Linked DNA regions of Homo sapiens: regions 2 and 3 are each linked to region 1. Evidence: promoter capture Hi-C in 16 types of primary human blood cells and fetal thymus (Javierre and others, 2016). All regions are on one chromosome and are shown on one strand. The core of a region is centred on a gene start or on the middle of the fragment in contact, and the rest is flanking DNA. Distances in the headings are between cores, read along the strand shown. Region 1 holds the start of TMEM86B (transmembrane protein 86B). Region 2 holds the start of MIR6805 (microRNA 6805). Region 3 holds the start of IL11 (interleukin 11).

The links. Contacts are between HindIII fragments. The CHiCAGO score rates a contact against its expected background, and 5 or more counts as called.
Region 2: a contact is called between a fragment that was not itself captured here and the fragment with the promoter of TMEM86B in region 1, in 8 of 17 cell types (megakaryocytes, erythroblasts, M1 macrophages and 5 more). The highest score is 13.1, in megakaryocytes.
Region 3: a contact is called between the fragment with the promoter of IL11 here and the fragment with the promoter of TMEM86B in region 1, in 14 of 17 cell types (naive CD4 T cells, M1 macrophages, activated CD4 T cells and 11 more). The highest score is 11.1, in naive CD4 T cells.

The regions. Positions count from the first base shown.
Region 1 is chr19:55,225,558-55,230,012 of GRCh38, reverse strand. It overlaps TMEM86B (transmembrane protein 86B), which reads left to right and starts at 1,250. Exons shown (of 3, transcript NM_173804.5): 1 at 1,250-1,322; 2 at 1,576-1,822; 3 at 2,450-3,375. The coding sequence starts at 1,272. The coding sequence ends at 2,832. It overlaps PPP6R1 (protein phosphatase 6 regulatory subunit 1), which reads left to right. Exons shown (of 24, transcript NM_014931.4): 24 at 1-234. The HindIII fragment of the contact is 5,765 bases long and covers 1-2,932 here.
Region 2 is chr19:55,386,606-55,391,060 of GRCh38, reverse strand. RPL28 (ribosomal protein L28) reads right to left here. Exons shown (of 5, transcript NM_000991.5): 3 at 4,368-4,455; 4 at 3,013-3,131; 5 at 1-2,818. The coding sequence ends at 2,729. It overlaps MIR6805 (microRNA 6805), which reads right to left and starts at 2,880; the gene lies at 2,819-2,880. The HindIII fragment of the contact is 1,611 bases long and covers 1,992-3,602 here.
Region 3 is chr19:55,368,695-55,373,149 of GRCh38, reverse strand. IL11 (interleukin 11) reads left to right here and starts at 2,687. Exons shown (of 5, transcript NM_000641.4): 1 at 2,687-2,846; 2 at 4,209-4,381. The coding sequence starts at 2,840. RefSeq lists a cis regulatory region at 1-991, enhancers at 268-1,171, 1,907-2,747, 3,591-4,432 and a silencer at 3,745-3,924. The HindIII fragment of the contact is 16,746 bases long and covers 1-4,455 here.

The DNA of each region.
Region 1 (4,455 bases), core at 1-2,500:
GTGGGGGCCGTGCCTTTGCCCAGACCCTGCACTTTCAACCAGGCCAGTCCGGCTCTGGGGAGCAGGGGCCTCCCCGGCAACAGCCCCAGGGGCCTTGAGGGTCTGAGGTCCCAGCCCTGTTGCCAAGTGACCTTGTCCCCAGCTCCCTCCTCCCAGGCTGGTGTGAGTGTGCGTGCGTTTGTGCCGAGCTTCTATTTCATATTGCAAATATAAATAAAGGAAGGCAGTTTACGATTCTGCTGGTCAGACCTTACGTTCTGGGATGCGGGGTGGGGAGCCTGTATTATCCCTGCACCCCAGAGGCTGGGGGTGCTCCTGACCCAGTCTGCCCCCACACTGTCCTGCCAGAGGGAGCCCTGTGGCTGCAGAGGCCCCAGGCTGGGCCAGGCACTGGCTGTGAGGGCTCCTGCCAGGTCTACCCCACCTGTGGGCAGGGCCTTGGGCAGAGGATAGAAGCCACCGACAGGCTCAAATCCCTGCTCCTGCCCCTGCTTACCCCCAGTAACCAAGCCCAGCATTGAGGCTGGGTACTGGCGCCCAGTAGGTCTGAGTCTTTCAGGTAGAAGGTAGAAGTGTAGGCTGCGTGTGCAGCGAGTGGCACCGGTGAGCGGCGCTGGGAAACCGGAGCGTGTGGACCGGGCCATGAGGACAGCGTCCTCACTGGGGTGGCAGTTGGCTTGGAGGTCACCTGGGGGCTCGCTCAGCTAACAGGAGAGGGTGCTTGTTCCCCGCATTCGTGGTGGTCCCTCCTGGTCACCCATTGAAGCAGTGTTTGTGGTGGAGCCCCTGAGGGCTTGGTGGGGTTGAGCAGAATGAGGAAAGGTTTCATGGAGCAGGGAGGGAGACGGCTAGGGCAGCAAGTGAAGGACAGACTCGCCTTCCCATCCCTCCAGGGGCACTCCTGCCAGCCAGCCCCTCTCCCGCTTCCCATGATGGGGTGGCTGTTGGAATTCTGCACCCCATCTCTTCTGATTGTTGGGGCCCAGGACAAGGGGACAGGCATTTGTGGGCCTAACCTCCCCAGGCAGATAGGAGGAGGAAGCCATGTCCCAGCAGGCTAGGGCAGAGGGACCCCCAGTGCCAACAGTGCTTTATCAGCGGGCGCCAGGCAGGGCCATCCCCAGGGTGAGGACAACATCTCCCTGGGCCCTGTTATCAGTCACAGAGTCCACAGGACGCTCCTTGGGTTAACGTGTAACCATGAGCCCTCCCCTCCACCCCCTGAAGCCACTCGCTCCCAGATTAGGTCGCTCTGGGGCTATCAGGCCAGCATGGACGCTGGCAAAGCGGGGCAGACCCTGAAGACTCACTGCTCAGCCCAGGTGAGAGCCTTCTGAGCTGTGCCTGGGGCTGGGGGGACAGGGCCCTGGAACCCCAGCAGCCGGCGGGTCTGGGAGCTGCTGTCCTTGAGTTGGTTGGGCCCTGGGAAGCTGGGTTCTGGCAGCCTGGTCCCTGAATGGGTCCAGCCTGTACAGCTGGGGTCCCAGGTGGGGGTGGGACAGGAGCCATGAGATCTGAGTCCCAAGAATGGGGGCTGGGCTGGGTTTCGGCTCAGTAGCTCCCCACTCCCCAAAGCGCCCAGATGTCTGCAGGTGGCTGAGCCCCTTCATCCTCTCCTGCTGCGTGTACTTCTGCCTCTGGATTCCCGAGGACCAGCTGTCCTGGTTCGCTGCCCTGGTCAAGTGCCTGCCCGTCCTCTGCCTGGCTGGGTTCCTGTGGGTCATGTCCCCAAGCGGGGGCTACACCCAGCTCCTCCAGGGAGCCCTTGTGTGCTCGGCTGTGGGGGACGCTTGCCTCATCTGGCCGGCAGCCTTCGTCCCTGGTGAGTGGAAGGTGCTGTGACGCTTTCCAGATGCCCGTGTGAGAGAGGCCCCAGCACTTGGATGGGAGCCTGGGTGCAGAGGGCTCCTGTGAGAGCTCCAGTGGTCAAAGGCACAGTGGGGGGCGCAGCCGTGACCGAGGCAGCTCACGCTCCAGCGAGGGGTGGGGGCAGGCGGTGTTAGGGCAGTAGCTGAGGTGGCGCAGAGGGCAGTGAGGACCTGCTGGAGGTACTGCAGTTTGAAGCAGGGTTGCTGAGGAAGGCCTCACTGAGGAAGTCACATTTGGGCAGAGCTGAAGGGCTGTATGCCTGTGTGGAGGAAGGGCGAGTGTAAAGGCTCCGGGGCAGGGACGTGTCAGGTGCTTGTAGCCCAGCAGGCCAGGGTGGCTGGCGCAGAGTGGCTGGAGAGCTGGAGGCCATGGGGCTTTGGAGGCCAAGGGAAGGTGGGGCCTCCTGGCAGTTCTGAGCAGAGCAAGGATGGACACTGCATGTGGGGAGACCTGCAAGGAGGCTCGGCCAGGGTGGGGCCTGGTGCTCTGGGATGGTCCTTCTCTTAGGCCCTGAGGGGTGACCTCGGGGCCATTCCCAGGATGGGCCTTCCTCACTGGTACCCCACCCCTCTCCCGCCAGGCATGGCCGCCTTTGCCACCGCCCACCTCCTCTACGTCTGGGCCTTCGGCTTCTCTCCCCTGCAGCCCGGCCTGCTGCTGCTCATCATCCTGGCCCCTGGCCCCTACCTCAGCCTTGTGCTCCAGCACCTCGAGCCGGATATGGTCCTGCCGGTGGCAGCCTATGGGCTGATCCTGATGGCCATGCTGTGGCGCGGCCTGGCCCAGGGCGGGAGTGCCGGCTGGGGCGCGCTGCTCTTCACGCTCTCTGATGGCGTGCTGGCCTGGGACACCTTCGCCCAGCCCCTGCCCCATGCCCACCTGGTGATCATGACCACCTACTATGCTGCCCAGCTCCTCATCACACTGTCAGCCCTCAGGAGCCCGGTGCCCAAGACTGACTGACTAGGGAGCTTGAAGGGCCGGTGTTCAGGCCCTCTCCTCCTGCAAGGACCTGGGCCTCCCAGCCCAGCCCAGCCTGAGAAATACCCTCAGCAGCGAAGCTTCCTGACGCCTGTCTGCAGGCGCCGCTGCCGCCGTCGCTTCTGGCTGAAGACGTTTGAGGACGATTTGCGGAATTCCAAGTCCACTACTGGGTTCCAGCTGCCTTCCCCCGGTTCTGACTCCAGATCCCTGGCTCCTCAGCCAGGCCCACATGGAGCCCTCCCAGCCACCAGCCTGCCTCCATGTTCACTGTCGGCCCCACAGCCTGCCCGCCCCCTGCTGCTGCTCTGAATCCGTTTTCCCTGTGGGTGTGGAACCGTAGATGTTGCTGTTACCGTAGGAGAGGCCTCGGGGAGGGTCATGATTGTGATAAACCATCGCGGTTAATGACAGCAGAAGGTTCTTTGTCGCTCCCCATGGACCAGGCCTGGTGCCCAGTGGGACCCTCCATGGCCCTCTGGTGGGGGGATTCGGGGGGATAAAGTGAGGATTGTGCAGAACTGAGCCAAGAGGACTGTTTGGTCTTTGTGTTAGTTTCCTGAGGCTGCTGTCACAAATTACCCCAAGCCAGATGCTTTGAAACAAGATGAATGGACTCTCCTGCAGTTCTGGAGACCCAAAGTCCAAAATCCGGGTGTTTTCCGGCCCATGGTCCCTCTTGAGGCTCCAGGGAAGAATCCGTCCTTGCCCTCTCGGCTTCTGGAGGCTCCCGGGAATCCCTGGCTTCCATCGGCCTGTGGCTGTGTCTCTCCGTCTTCATGTGACTGTCTTCAACTGGCAGCCTCCCTCTGTGTCCGCATCCTTCTAGGGACACAGGTCATTGGATTTAGGGCCCACCCTAAACCCAGGGTGATTCTATCTCAAGATCCTTAAGTATGTCTGCAAAGCCCCTATTTCCAAGTAGTGTCACCTGCAGAGGTATCTGGGGTTAGGACTTGGACATATCTTTCTAGGGGATACAACCCGCTGCAGTCACATGCAGTATCGGGAGAAGGGTGGGAGGCTTGAGGATGAGGGGTCTTGGAGGAGGGAGGGCGGCAAGGGGGTAGGAATCAAATGGGAAGGAGGAACCCAGCTGTGCTCCTTGTCAAGGCTGTGTGACCTCGGCAAGCTGCTATCCCTCAGGTCCTCAGATTCTGCATCTGAAGACTTGACAGGGTCCAAGCTGCTCTCCAAGACCCTATTTGACTTCTGCATCCATGATGTGCTTTCAGTGACTCATAGCAGAGGGGCGACTTCTCCATCCATGGTTAGCATTTAGAGACTCTTACAGCAGAGAGGCGACCTCTCTATCCATGACCTGCATTTAGGGACTCTTAGAGCAGAGGTGACTTCTCCATCCATGACCTGCATTTAGGGACTCTTACGACAGAGAGGGGACTTCTCCATCCATGGCCAGCATTTAGGGACTCTTACAGCAGAGAGGTGACTTCTCCATCCATGACCTGCATTTAGGGACTCAGATGTGAGAGTACAGAGGTGGGAAGGGAAGGTGGGGAGCCTGGAGGACGGGGACCAGGAAGGAAAGTGAGGACAGGAATCCACAGTTGGAGTGAGGAGAAGTGGAAGCTGAGGGATTTCCTT
Region 2 (4,455 bases), core at 1,548-4,047, 160 kb before region 1:
GCTTTTCTTTTGTTCTCCCAATTTTGTCTTTGGCTTTCAGCATTTTTACTATGGTGAGCCTGCCTGTTTTCTTAATATCATGTTTTTGGTTTAACTGGTTTTCCAATTTCCAGGCCAACAGACATGATTTGTGTGAATAAAGCTGGAATAGATGGCCCCATCCAACATCTCTCTCTCCAAGATGAGGTCTAGAGGAGGGAAATGGTGTCTCCACGTTTGCTCAGCACACTGAGGACTCCAAACTCTGTGGGGCTGAGACCATCTCCCTCCCTCCAGCCCTCTCCTGGTTCCTCCACCCCAACCCACCGATAGCATTCAGATACCAGACGTGGCCTCCCCAGCCCAGCCACACAGACAGGCTGGCCACCCGCAGGAACAGAGGCCCACTAAGCTGGGCTGTGTTACGGATGAGACCAGGGGAGGCCACACAGCAGGGAGGATTCAGATAGGGATGGAGAAAGCCAGCAGGACTCCACAGGGGGTGGGGCCTAGAGGCACAAGCCTCCAGGGCAGGCAAGGAGGTGGTTAAGGACAAGGCCTTCTGAGCAGCAGCAGCCACATCAGAAAGCCTCGAGCGCCTGTAATGCCAGCACTTTGGGAGGCTGAGGCAGGTGGGTAATTTGAAGTCAGGAGTTCCAAACCAGCCTGGGCAAAATGGTGAAACCCCATCTCTGCTAAAAATACAATACTGAGCTGGGTGTGGTGACACCCACCTGTAATCCCAGCTACTCGGGAGGCTGAGGCAGGAGAATCGCTTGAACCCAGGAGGTGGAGGCTGCAGTGAGCCAAGATCGCGCCATTGCACTCGCCAGCCTGGGCAACAGAGCGAGACTCCATCTCCAGAAAGTCTCCAGTGAGCAAACTCTCAGGACCGGTGGGCTTTATACATTCAATATGCACCATTCATCAAGCATCTCATTATATGCTGGTGTGCTAGACAAACCCCTTGCCCACCAGCACAAGACAAACATGAGACAGATAAACCTGCCAGCTTGTGGGCTGCAAATCAGTGCTGTGGAGGACAACTGAAGCAGGTGCCAGGGGAGAGGCCTCACGAGAAGGGGCCATCTACTAACGTGAGCAGTGAGCTCTCCTTATGAAGGCGGAGTCCCAGCGCAGTGAGGCCAGCCAGAGATGGGCCTGAGTGGGACTGGGACAGTGGGGGCTCCTGAGCAGGTACGAAGTCACCAGCGGAGTGAGGCCAGCTGGAGGTGGGCCTGAGTGGGATTGGGACAGTGCGGGGGGTCCTGAGCAGGTACCAAGTCACCCAACTCAGTTTTAAGGCAACACCTCTCAATCTGAGCTAATAGACCCAACTAAGGGAAGGACAAAGGAAATGGTAATTCACAGCAGACAGGGGCTGGCAAGTGGTCAGATCTGCTCTCCTTCGAGCTGGGCAAGACTGGAGCAGACAGGACTGAGGTCGGAAGGGCAGTGGTCTGCCTCAAAACGCAGGGCTCCCAGCCCCGTACGACCCCAACCAATGGCAAGTCGAGGCCCTGACAGTCCCCTTACTCTCAGTCAGAGCCGGGGGTGGTCTCAGACAGGGAGCAGAGTCCTTCTTTGAATCGGGTACCCCAGGATGGCAGGAACCAGGGGTGCCATGGATGCTGGATCCTTGGTCCCTGGCAGTGGCTGACAGAGTTAGGTGCCCAGGAAACATGTGAGGATCAACAGCAGGACTCTTTCCCCATCCAGGCCTCACTGTGTGTCATGGTGTCTTCCAGGCTGGAGTGTAGTGGTGGGGCTCATGGGCTCACTGCAGCCTCATACTCTTGGCTCAAGTGCTCCGCTCACCTCAGCCTCTACTCAACCTCTGAGGAGCTGGGACCACAGGCGGTGCACCACCACACCCAGCTAATTTTATTTTAGAGACGGTGTCTCATTATGTTGCCTAGGATGGTCTCAAACTCCTGGCCTCACAAGCTGTAATAAACACTAGGGAGCAAACAGGCCAAAGGAAACAAGAGGGCTGGGCAATCAGGAAAGCTTGGGTGACAGGGTGGCCCAGGAGCGGCCACTGAGATGAGACCTAAGTGACAAGAGCCAGCTCAAAGAGACAGGGGAGGGATGGGGACACCTGGAGGACGGGAGTAGGGGGACAATGCTAAGGCTGCTCAATGCCTGCTGGCTGTACCCTGGGGCTGCCATCTCCCTTACAGTTATAAGCCACCACCCACCAAGTTGCCCATCTCAGAGATGAGGTTGCATCAAGTAAAGCCCATCCCCTCCAAATGTGGCTGCACCCACTCCCTGGATGCAAAAGTCATCTCATCTTCCTCCCGTGATGTCTGTCGTCCCCCAGGTCTTGGGAACACCCCAAGTCCCCAAACCGTGCTACAGCACCAGGGCCCAGGGCCCAGCCCTCAGCCTGCACCCTTCTGGGCTAGAAAAGGCCTTTCTTCTTCTGAATGGAAGCCACTGCCCCAGCTGGGATTCTTCAGGCCACCTCACAATGGGACAGTAGGTCTCAATCACAAGTCAGCAAACTTTTTCTGTGAAGACAGTGACCCTTGCCCTCACCAGGGACAAGGCAGCTACCCCACCCCTCCTGCATGGCCAGCCATTGACATCACCTCCAGATGGACAAGGTGACATGCAGAGTTTTGATGACATGGCCTGAATGACAACACACAGGGCCAGAGCTCCCCAGAGCGTTTCAAAAAGGGAGGCCCAGTCGAGGCAGGTGAGAAAGCCAGCTGACTTTATTGCTCTGGGGGCAGGGGGCTCAGGAGCTCTTGGTGGGGCGGGTCCGCTTCCTCTTCACCATCACAGGCTTCTGGCTGCGCAGGATGGCGCTGGCCCTGCGGATGGCTGCCTGGGGGCGGGGGAGCAGAGCAAGGCTCAGCCCATACACTCCACAAGCCGCCCCCTAGGCCAATGCTGGGTGTGGGGAGTAGGCTGAAAGCAAGAATCCATCCCTCTCCAGCCCATATTGCAACCAGTAGTGGGAGGCCCTTCCCCACAGCACTGGCCAGTCTCCCCAAGCCTGATCCCCAAACCCCAGCTCACCATGCGCAGGTCGGGGCGGTACTTGTTCTTGCGGATCATGTGTCTGATGCTGCTGAGCGTGGCGCGAGCATTCTTGTTGATGGTGGTCCGCACATAGGAGGTGGCAGGCTTCCGCTGGCCTGGTTGGGGGTCAGGGAGGTCCTGGGGTCAGTCCACCTAACCTGCACCTTTAGCACACCTCGCAGGTGTGGACAGTCTCACATTGAGAAGCTGAGCAGCGTGGGCCCGTGGCGGGTGCCTGGGCAGGCCAGCAGGTAGCTGTTTTCCCACCTGTCCATTTCACAGAGGCTCACTCGTCATCACGGAGTACTGAGGACACAGCTTCTGCCACACTCATAGCCCAATTCTGTCCACCATGAAAACACTCCTTTCTCATGCCAGAAAGCTGCCGCTTCAGTTAGGATCTGATCCAGGTCCAGCCAGAGCCCACGCTCCTGGCAATGGGTATGAACAGCTTCCCAGGAACCCCAGGCCCATCCCCACAGCAGTGGTTCAACATCAGCTTGGCTGAGAGGCCCAGCCTCACTCAGGCCAGTCCCTTAGTCTAGGAAGGGCCACCCATGTATTCGGCAATCCAAGAGGTGAAAGCTTTCAGGACTCCCCAGAACGGGGTCCCCAAGTGCCAAGCAATTGGCTGCTCCCTGGACTACGTGTCCCTGAGACAGGAGGATCACTAGCCAACAGACTGCGTTTGTTGCTGCCACTGAGTAAAAGGACCCTTGGCTCTGAGGCAGTTCCAATCAAGGACCTGAGAAAAACTCACTCTAAAAAGAAAATACAGCCCTGTCAAGAACACATGTGAAGCTGGACTCCTCCATTAGAGACCCCCGACTCACACGAACATTCAGGGAATCCCCAAAAAGGCCTGCACCTGACAGCACAATGTATGGAGTGGGGTCCCCAAGACCTCTTCTCTAACCTACACAGGCAAAATGGGAATCAAATGGCTGCAACCAACCCAGCCTGTCCCCTCCTAAGTGTGGTAGCGAGGGCCCCTCCCCTGTTGTGCCTCAATCTTCCCACCTGTGGGATGAAACCATCCATCCCCACCCTGACTTGCTTTGAGAATTTCATCTGAAAACATCAACCCCGTGCCTTAACTCTCAACAACCACCGAGGAAGTTCAGGTCCTTTTTCATTTCTCCACTTTACAGGTGAGGACACGGGCTCAGACGCGCGCGGCTCACAGAGCTGACAAGTCGGCCGAGAGGGAAGCCGGTACCCAGACCAACACCCTGGCGCCAGGGATGCCCGCCGCGATGGCAGTTACCGCTCTTCCTGCCTGACAGTAAAAAATCACAGCTCCCAGACCCGGGAAAGGGGCCGCTCTCTGGCCCAAACCAGACAAAACTCACCGGATCTCCGCTTAATGACCACCACGACACCTTTGCCGTCGGCTGCCGGCTCCACGCCCACAGTCTTGCGGTGAATCAGTCCGTTGTA
Region 3 (4,455 bases), core at 1,438-3,937, 140 kb before region 1:
GTCTGAGGGAGGAGGGGCTGGGGGATTGGGCTCTGGTCCCTGTAGGTGGACGGGGCTGGCATTACCAGAACCCTTTTCTTGCTCCCCAGCTGGCCCCAGGCCAGTCCCCCATACCCTCGGGCTAGTCCATCCCCCAAGCTGGTGGCCTGAGTCACCTTGGCTGGTCCCGCCGGTCTGGGGGGGGCTACGTCAGCTCTCCCCTCACTGACGCAGCCTTGGGCCCCCCACACTGACTCAGCCGGAAGCAGGCCCCCTGAGGGGCGGAGACCCGGTGGTCAGAGGCCTGGGTCCCAGCAGGAGCTGGTGCTGGGGAAGGCCCCTGGGGGGCCCTGAAAGGGGTGGCTGTGACAGACCAGAGAGAGGGAGAGAGAGCTCTTACCTGAGGCGATGAGGTCATGTCCCACCGTGGGGGGGCTGTGACCTCACCTCCTTGGGGACCTGAGCAGTTGCCCTTCCAGTGGTGCTGGATTGGGAAGGGGAAGCCTCCAACCAGCCCGGCAGTCTCGGAGGCTGACACGAGGGGGTCTGCACAGAGCCTCAGAGCCCCCACCACCTCCGCGCTCTCAGTCCCATCCTGTCCTTCCCTGCCATCTAGGTCTGGGGGCTCTCGGGGACATGGCTTGGTACCTCTGCCCCTCGCTTGCTCTGTGGTGAATCCCGGGTCTCCTCTGCCCCCATGCCTGGGGCTGGCCCACTGTGAGCCTGGGTAGGCGTCGCTGCCTCCCCCCTGGCCTGTGGGTCCCCTCCCCCCTGCACTCCTCTCCTGCCTCCACCTCTGTGCGGTGACGTCCAGGGCTCTGGCCCCGGTGGTTCTGGCCACTGTCTCCGTGTCCCCACTGTCCCGTCTTCACCCCATCTTGCTCCTGCCCCATCTCTCTCGAAGGCGACATCTTTTTCTCTGTGTCCCTGATGTGTTCAGAAAAGTTAACGAGGGGAATAAGGATGGTCAGCACTGACTTTGTGCTTCACGTGAATGAGCTCGCTTTATCCTCATCGTGGCATTTAGGCGGATGAGGGTGCATCATTAACCCCCCTTCACAGATGAGGAAACTGAGGCACAGAGGGGGAGAGTCGCACATGGAGGTCTTGCCTCTATGGAGTGTCTCAGCGCCTCTTGGTCCTCAGTCTCCGTCTCTCCTCCTCCTTCCTGTCTCCACCTGCCTCTTTGAGAAAGGCTTTTCAAAAGGCCAGGCGTGGTGGTTCACACCTGTATTCCCACCACTTTGGGAGGCTGAGGCGGGAGGATGACCTGAGCTCAGGAGTTTGAGACCAGCCTGGGCAACATGGCAAAACCCTATCTCTACTAAAAATACAAAAAATAGCCAGGCATGGTGGCGGGTGCCTGTAATCCCAGCTACTCAGGAGGCTGAGGCATGAGAATCACTTGAACCTGGGAGGCGGAGGTTACAGTGAGCTGAGATCACACCACTGCACCCCAGCCTGGGTGACACAGCGAGACTCTGTCTCAAAAAAACCAAAAACGAGGCCAGGCACGGTAGCTCACACCTGTCATCCCAGCACTTTGGGAGGCCGAGGCAGGCGGATCACGAAGTCAGGAGTTCGAGACCAGCCTGGCCAACATGGTAAGACCCCGTCTCTACTAAAAATACAAAATTAGCCGGGTGTGGTGGCGCACACCTGTAATCCCAGCTACTTGGGAGGCTGAGGCAGGAGAATCGCTTGAACCCGGGAGGTGGAGGTTGCAGTGAGCTGAGATTGTGCCATTGATCGCGCCATTGCACTCCAGCCTGGGTGACAGAGTGAGACTCAGTACCAAAAAACAAACAAACAAAAAACAAACAAAAAATGAGAAAGGCTTTTACTCTCTGCCCCCATTGCTGAGTCCCCAACATCTCAGCGTCTCTGTCTTTCTAATATCTCTGTCTCCCCTTTTCTGTCCCTGGGGCCTCTCCGTCCCTGTCACTCTGCCCCGTGTCTCTGTTTGCCTGGTGCCTTTCTTCAGCTGCGGCATCCTCTGTCTCAGAGTCTTGGTGTCTCTGTTCCTTTCCCCTCGGGGTCTCCCTGGGTCTCCCCAAGTCCCTCCTGCTGTCTTCCTCCCGCTCTCTGATCTCTGACTCCCAGAACCTCTCCCTCTGTCTCCAGGGCTGCCCCTCTGATCCTCTTTGCTTCTCTGGTGTGTCTCTCTGGCTGCCTCCATCTCTGTGGATCTCCATCTCCCTGTCTCTGTCTCAGTCTGTCCTTCACTCTGTGTGTGTGTGTGTCTCTCTCTCTCTCCTTCCCTTCCACTCCCTCTTCCTCCTGCCTCCACCTCTCCAGGCCCCTGTCTTGTCCCTCCGTCCGGCCTTTCTCTGCCTTTCCGTCCTCCTGCCTCCCCATCTCTCTCTGCTAGTCCTGGTCCAGCCGGACCCCCACCCACAGTCGGGCCCCAGCGCTTGAGCCTGAGTGTCTGCTCCGGCCCGTGGAGGTGGAGGGAGGGGACGCCAATGACCTCACCAGCCCCTCTCCGACCACCCCCCCCTTTCCCTTTTCAACTTTTCCAACTTTTCCTTCCGTGCCCTCCTCCGAGCGCGGCGGCGTGAGCCCTGCAAGGCAGCCGCTCCGTCTGAATGGAAAAGGCAGGCAGGGAGGGTGAGTCAGGATGTGTCAGGCCGCCCTCCCCTGCCGCCTGCCCCCCGCCCGCCCGCCCCAGCCCCCTATATAACCCCCCAGGCGTCCACACTCCCTCACTGCCGCGGCCCTGCTGCTCAGGGCACATGCCTCCCCTCCCCAGGCCGCGGCCCAGCTGACCCTCGGGGCTCCCCCGGCAGCGGACAGGGAAGGGTTAAAGGCCCCCGGCTCCCTGCCCCCTGCCCTGGGGAACCCCTGGCCCTGTGGGGACATGAACTGTAAGTTGGTTCATGGGGAGGGTGGAGGGGACAGGGAGGCAGGGAGGAGAGGGACCCACGGCGGGGGTGGGAGCAGACCCCGCTGAGTCGCACAGAGAGGGACCCGGAGACAGGCAGCCGGGGAGGAGAGCAGCTTCGGAGACAGGAGGCGGCGGAGGAGATGGGCAGAGAGAGACACAGACAGGAGCGGATGGAGGCAGCCAATCAGAGGCGCCGCAGGAGGGACGGGCCAGACAGGGCCCCGAGAGGGAGCGAGACGCGGAGACCGAGCAGGGGCAGGGACGCAGGGACTGGTGCCGGGAGGGAGGTGACCCCCATCGACCCAGGCCCCAGGGAGCCCGCGGGGACCGGGAGACTCCCTGGGATTCCGGCAGAGAGGCTCCGGAGGGAAACTGAGGCAGGGTCCGCGGAGAGCGGAGCAAGCCAGGGAGTAGCGACCCCAGCCGGGGGGAGGAGAGAGACTGGGCGCGGGGGGAAAGCGGGGAGAGCCGGGCAGATGCGGCCGACGGAGGCGCGGACAGACCGACGGCTGGCGGGCCCGGGGGGCGGGCTGGGGGTGTGCGAGGCGCGGGCGGCCGGGGAGCGCTGATTGGCTGGCGGGTGGCCGGGTGGGCGGGGCGGCCGGGGTGGGCTGCGGGGAGCGAGCTCCGGACCCCCGCGCCCCCCGCGCCCCCCGCGCCCCCCGCCGCCAGCTCTCCCGCTCCCGCGGCCCGGCCGGGCCCATGGCTCTGCCCCTCTCCGCCCAGGTGCGCTGCGGCCCGGGCTTCTGCCGCCCACCCGGCGGGGCTCCTGGGAGGGCGTCTAAGGGGTCTCCCGTGGGAGAGGTCCGTGTCTCCCGGGCTCCGTCCTGGCTTCTGGCTCCTTCCCCTGCTCCCAGCCAGCTCGGGCTCCCGCGGCCCGGGGAGGGGGCAGGTTCTGGCCTGTGCCTCCCCCACCATGCCCCGCCCCGGGGCCCAGATTCCGGCGTCCGGGGGCGGACGGGAGACGCCCGGCCCGTCTACCCGCCCCGGGCCGCGTCTGCTCCGACGGGCGGGGCAGCCAGAGCCAGGGAGGGAGAGGGAAGCCCGCCTGGCCCTGCGACCTGCCCGCGGGCGTTCCACCCTGGGACTTAAGACCTCCAGCTCCATCCTCCCTAAGGCCGGGAGTCCAGGCCCCAGACCCTCCTCCCCGAGACCCAGGAGTCCAGACCCCAGGCCTTCCTCCCTCAGACCTAGGAGTCCAGGCCCCCAGCCTCTCCTCCCTCAGACCCAGGAGGAGTCCAGACCCCAGTTCCTCCTCCCTCAGACCCGGGAGTCCAGGCCCAGGCCCTCCTCTCTCAGACCCGGAGTCCAGCCTGAGCTCTCTGCCTTATCCTGCCCCCAGGTGTTTGCCGCCTGGTCCTGGTCGTGCTGAGCCTGTGGCCAGATACAGCTGTCGCCCCTGGGCCACCACCTGGCCCCCCTCGAGTTTCCCCAGACCCTCGGGCCGAGCTGGACAGCACCGTGCTCCTGACCCGCTCTCTCCTGGCGGACACGCGGCAGCTGGCTGCACAGCTGGTAGGAGAGACTGGGCTGGGGCCAGCACAGGAGTGAGAGGCAGAGAGGAACGGAGAGGAGTCTGCGGGCAGCCA